Linked DNA regions of Homo sapiens: region 2 is linked to region 1. The links are contacts of gene promoters, found by promoter capture Hi-C in human tissues and cell types (Jung and others, 2019). All regions are on one chromosome and are shown on one strand. Each heading gives the region's core, a stretch centred on a gene start or on the middle of the fragment in contact. The rest is flanking DNA. Distances are from core to core; before and after follow the strand shown.

Region 1 (2,700 bases), core at 173-2,672:
TTATTTACTTATTTATTTTTGAGATGGAGTCTGCTCTGTCACCCAGGCTGGAGTGTAGTGACACGATCTCGGCTCACTGCAACCTCAGCTCCCAGGTTCAGGCGATTCTCCTACCTCAGCCTCCTGAGTAGCTGGGATTACAGGCGCGCGCCACCATGCCCGGATTTTTGTATTTTTAGTAGAGACCAGGTTTCACCACATTGGTCAGGCTGGTCTCAAATTCCTGATCTCGTGATCCGCCGGCCTCAGCCTCCCAAAGTGCTGGGATTATAGGCGTGAGCCACCGCGATTGGCCTATTTTAATTTTTTAATTTTAATTTTTTTGAGACAGTCTTGCTCTGTCGCCCTGGCTGCAGTGCAGCGTCACGATCTCGGCTCACTGCAGCCTCCGCCTCCCGGGTTCAAGCGATTCTCGTGCCTCAGCCTACTGAGTAGCTGCGATTACAGGCGCGCGCCACCACGCCCGGCTAATTTTTGTATTTTTAGTAAAGACGGGGTTTCACCACGTCGGCCAGGCTGGTCTCGAACTCCTCACCTGAAGTGATCCACCCGCCTCGGCCTCTCAAAGTGCTGGGATTACAGGCTCGTGAGCCACTGCGCCTGGCCTTCAGATCTTAAACACCACTTCCTTGGTACAGCATTCAGAGACACCTCCATATTCCTCTCCCCTTACTAAAGGTTCCTTCTTACGGCACCCTGCATTTTTCCTTCATGACTTTATCACAGTTTGTAATTGTCTATTTATTTTAATTAATCTGTCTGTGTCCATAAACTGTGAGCTCCGCCGGGACCTTGTTTGCCCTGCTCTCTGCTATGTCCTCAATATCAACAGTGGACTAGGATCACAGCAGGCTTTCATCAAATATTTATGGGAAACAGTCCAGTCCATTCCTGAACTCGGGTTCAGAAAAGGATAGCGACCTGTCCAAAATCACACAGGTTAGCGGCAGACTTGATCCCGAGTCTCCTAACTGGCAACCCAAGACTCTATCCCCGGAACTGGCAAGAATCTTCCTGAACTACCCCGATAAAATTTTGAGTGCCAAAGAAAGTCCCAGAAAGGGAGTGAGTAGAGCAGTGTGGAGAGTAGGAGGAAAGTGATTTGACTTGGCCCCTCCTCTCTTGACGTTGAGCATACTGCAAACAGACACTATACGTGGCAGGGCGGCTACAGAGTGAACCAGCGACAGGGTAGCCATTAAAAGAGGCCAGGGAGCGGACAGAGGAGTAGAGGGCAGTACTGCGCAGTAGACTGCACAGGCGCAGTCGAGGAGCTCCGCTCCTTTCTCCTCAGCCCCGCCCCGCCCCATTTCTGCCGAATCACAGAAGTTCAAGAGCGGTCAGCTGATGCTACGCTGTGCGGTCACGTGACAACGGGGGCGAAGCGCAGGCGCAAGGAGCAAGCGCAGATTGTGGGCGGCTGTGTCAGCTGACCCAAGGGGCCTTCGAGGTGCCTTAGGCCGCTTGCCTTGCTCTCAGAATCGCTGCCGCCATGGCTAGTCAGTCTCAGGGGATTCAGCAGCTGCTGCAGGCCGAGAAGCGGGCAGCCGAGAAGGTGTCCGAGGCCCGCAAAAGTGAGTTTCAGGGTGGGGCTGCCCGGCGTGGCGCGAGTCGAAGAAAGACCGCTGGGCCTCAGGTGGTGGGTAGATTAGGCCCGAAAAACTGCGGGGTGCGGGCGTGCGTATAGTCGCGGAAGGTTGTGTGTTTCGAAGCTTTGAGGAGCTGAGGCTCTGGAAGGCTTGCGGATCGCCTGGAAGCCACGATGTGAGATGGTAAATTGGGCGTGGAAACAATAATGGGTTACCGTCCTTGGGGCCTGGAGGCATGTGAAATGGGCTCTCCAAACGGAGCTCTTTGTTCTTCTTCTCTCCCACTTAACCGCTCTGGGGTGGTCAGTCTCGGTGAAGGGAGCCAGCATCCACACAGTTGCTTGGTCTAGAAACCTGGAGTCCTGCTTGCCTCTTCTCCCTCCCTCATTTAGTCAGTCGCCAAGGCTTGCGTATCTTTCACTTTTTCCCCCATGTCTACTACCAGCGTCTTAGTCCAGGACACCAGTTTCTCTAAAGGTACTGTAGTTGTCTAAATCGTTGGCGTGTGTGCGTGTGTGTGTTTCTGATATGTGGCAAGCGCAGTGTGTGTGTGTTTCTAACATGTGGCAAGCGCAGTGTGTGTGTGTGTGTGTGTGTGTGTGTGTTTCTGTCTAATATGTGGCAAGCGCAGTGCCCAGTGCATCAGTTGTCTCCCCTAACGTGGCATTCAGTGTCGCAGTGAAGGAAGCAGGTATTGGGTCAGTTAATTAATTGCAGGAGAGATGAGGGCTGGAGTGGAGAAATGTAAGGTTGCTAAAGAATTTAACAGGTGAGTTTAATCTAGACTGGGGAGTGGAAGAACCCGTTCTGGTCCCCTCCAGTCAATCCATTCTCCTCTCTGCAATCAGTCATCCTTCTAAAATGCAAATATGTGACTTCCTGCTGGTAAGGAACAAAATAAATAAATAAGTGCAGATATGATTTCCCTACCGCCTTTGTAGTCAGACGTTTAGTTCCTGCAGAAGAAAGCTCAAATTCCTTAATGAAGTTGGGGAGGCTCTTGTGGGTCAGGCCTGGTGCTTTCCTCCAGCTATACTGAATCGTTGTGGTCCCTCAGAAGCAGCATGATGTCTTTCACCTGCAGGTTTTTGCACACGCTGTTTCTTCTGAC
Region 2 (2,700 bases), core at 18-2,517, 390 kb after region 1:
TTGGTGTCTGGTGAGGGCCTGCTTCCTCATTCATGGACTGCTGTCTTCTCACTGCATCCTCACATGGTGGATGTAGCAAGGGAGTTCACTGGGGTCTCTTTTATAAGGACACTACTCTCATGCATGAGGGTTCTACCCTAACGATCTAATAATCACCTTCTAAAGGCCCTACATGCAAATACTATCACACTGCAGATTTGGGTTCAACATATGAATTTGGGGAGGGGGCACTAACATCTACTGACATTAGGATGTAGTAGAAGGAGTCCTTCTTATTTGAAAGATCATATGTGAAGCCTCTCTGAGTAGCAGGTAAGACCCCAAAGGGGTTGTCAGGAGTTCAAGCAAAAGGAAAGCTATAGCTAAGCTGTCCAACCTGAGAATATAAGAGGAGTTAAGAGATATATGGGGAATAGGAGAGGTCAGTGGTTTACAAGGGGATGAGAGAAGGAGGGACTAGAAAGATGGTCTATGGCTGAGGACTCCACAGGGTAAACAGAGGTAGAGCTTTACAACAATATGCATTGTTGTGCAAGTTGCCTTTGCTCAACTGGTTGGCTGAGGCAGCTGGCTGGGTTTGCAATTAAACCAGTGTCCTGATCCCTAAGTCGTATTTTCTGGGTCTGCACTTGAAGGAGGTGTCCCTATGGCCTAGTAGTGACCCTGGGAAGAGCATCTTATGGAATTGCCTTATGATAAGGTGGTTGTTATGGATTGAATATTTGTGTCCACCTCAAATTCACATATTGAAATACTAATTCCCAATGTGATGGTATTTGGTGGCGGGACCTTTGAGGGGTAGAGAAGGTTAGATGAGGTCATGAAGATGGGGCCCTTATGATGGGATGAGTGCCCTTATAAAATAAGGAGGGAACACAAGATCTCTGTCTGTCTCTGCATGTGAAGATACAATGAGAAAGTAGCTGTCTGCAAACCAGGAAGAGTGTCCTCATCAGATACCAGCTTTGCTGGTACCTTGATTTTGGACTTCCTAGCTTCCATAACTGTAAGAAAATGAGTGTTTGCTGTTTATGCCATCCAGTCTATAGTAATTTGCTATGGCAGCCCAAACTAAGACAGTGGCCAAAGGAGGGCTTCACAAGGGGGATGCCTAATGTCCAATTTGAAGTTGTTGTGATATAATAATCCTTTTTCTAGCTACTAAATAAATCTTCAAGTAAGTGCACTATACTTATTAGCTCTTTGTGCAAGATGAGTGTATGGGTGTGTAGAAATTGAAGAAAGGCGGGGTTTCTCGTCTGGATTGTAGCCATGTGGACAAAACAGCATTTGCAGAATCAGAAACCTAGATTTGGAGACATCAGAATACAAATCCCCCATGCTCCCGTCTCCCCTTTTTCTTTCCCAGAAATCTGCAGGCTTTGGTCTTCCATGAAGCATGGAGTTGATCGTTTGAGCCAGCCTTATCTGGATTTTAAAGGGCAGGGAGGTAGCAAGTGACATCAGGATTACATTTTATTGTTTTAGTGCCTCCAGCGAGATGTCATGAATAAGTTTATTTTATGACTGTGTGTCTCTCGCTTAAGTAAGCTAATATTGCATCATGGGTAGTTTACACAAATCATTGTTTTAAGGATGCAGTTCAAAACAAAAATATATGAGCAAACTGAAATTCTTATCTCTAAGATCCAAAGGATAATAGTTCATTTATGCATCACATCTTCTGGAATGTATTTTTATAGACTGTAAATTGGATAAGATAGCTGAGTGCAATGCATGGTAGGGAAGGATAAATAATAAGAAGCTTTAGGTTCAAGACCCAGCTCATGCTAAGTTGCTGTGTGAATTTAGGTAATTGTAGTCCTCTCTGATATATAATTATCCTGTAATGTTGGAGTGTTGAACAAAAACGACCTCCAGGATCTGTATTAATTAAGACTAAATTAGTTGTATTAAAGGAAGATGGAAACGTCCTTCTTCCTCATGTAGAGGTCTCAAGATAGGCTATAGGTGTCTCTACTCCAAGAAATCCTCCAGGGTCCAGGATCCTTTATATTTTTCCTAAAGCAGGAAAACATACAAAGCCAAGCAAAATATCTAATGATTAAATATGTAACCTGGAAGCTGCACATAGTACTTCAGCTCACATTCCCTTGGCCTTAAGTTTGTCACATGGGCTCACCCAATCTGCAAGGTAGATTAGGAAATACAGAAATAGAGTCTATATTCTTAGCTGATATACGTTGCCAGCTAAAAACTGGGGTTCCGTGATTCCGAGAGAAGAGGATAATGGGTATTGTAGAACAATTAGAAGTTTCTGCCACAGGTTCCTTCCAGAACTAACAGTTTAAGATTCTAGGTGTTGTCAACAGTTTTGATGATCAGATATCAAATTACTCTCCATCTTTAGGGCCCTTTCTGCTGGATGATGGTTGAGATGACTTGATCACAGAATTAGCAAGTAGTTTAGACCAGTGCTGTCCAATAGAAACATAATATAAGCCACACAGAAATTAAAAAAAAAAATTCTAGTAGCCACAGTAAATAAAGGAAAAAGGAGCAGCTAAAATGAATTTTAACAATTAATTTTATTTCATCTAATCATGTAAACACTATTAACAAGTTATTTTACATTTATTTTTTCATACTGAGTCCTTGAAGTTTATTTTGTAGTGTACATTACAGCACATCTCAACTTGAACTAGCTGCATTTTCAGTGTTCAGTAACTCCACATGTCT

The links. Contacts are between HindIII fragments. The study calls those that stand out against the background at their distance.
Region 2: a fragment that was not itself captured here is called in contact with the fragment with the promoter of ATP6V1G1 in region 1 in 1 of the 25 tissues and cell types used here (IMR-90 fibroblasts).

Annotation. Positions count from the first base shown.
Region 1 is chr9:114,586,347-114,589,046 of GRCh38, forward strand. ATP6V1G1 (ATPase H+ transporting V1 subunit G1) reads left to right here and starts at 1,423. Exons shown (of 3, transcript NM_004888.4): 1 at 1,423-1,574. The coding sequence starts at 1,493. RefSeq lists enhancers at 1-701, 702-1,520, 1,159-1,238, 1,349-1,858. The HindIII fragment of the contact is 8,309 bases long and covers 1-2,310 here.
Region 2 is chr9:114,979,764-114,982,463 of GRCh38, forward strand. No RefSeq gene overlaps it. Among named protein-coding and RNA genes, the nearest start is that of TNFSF8, 51 kb to the left of the region's middle. The HindIII fragment of the contact is 4,565 bases long and covers 1-2,700 here.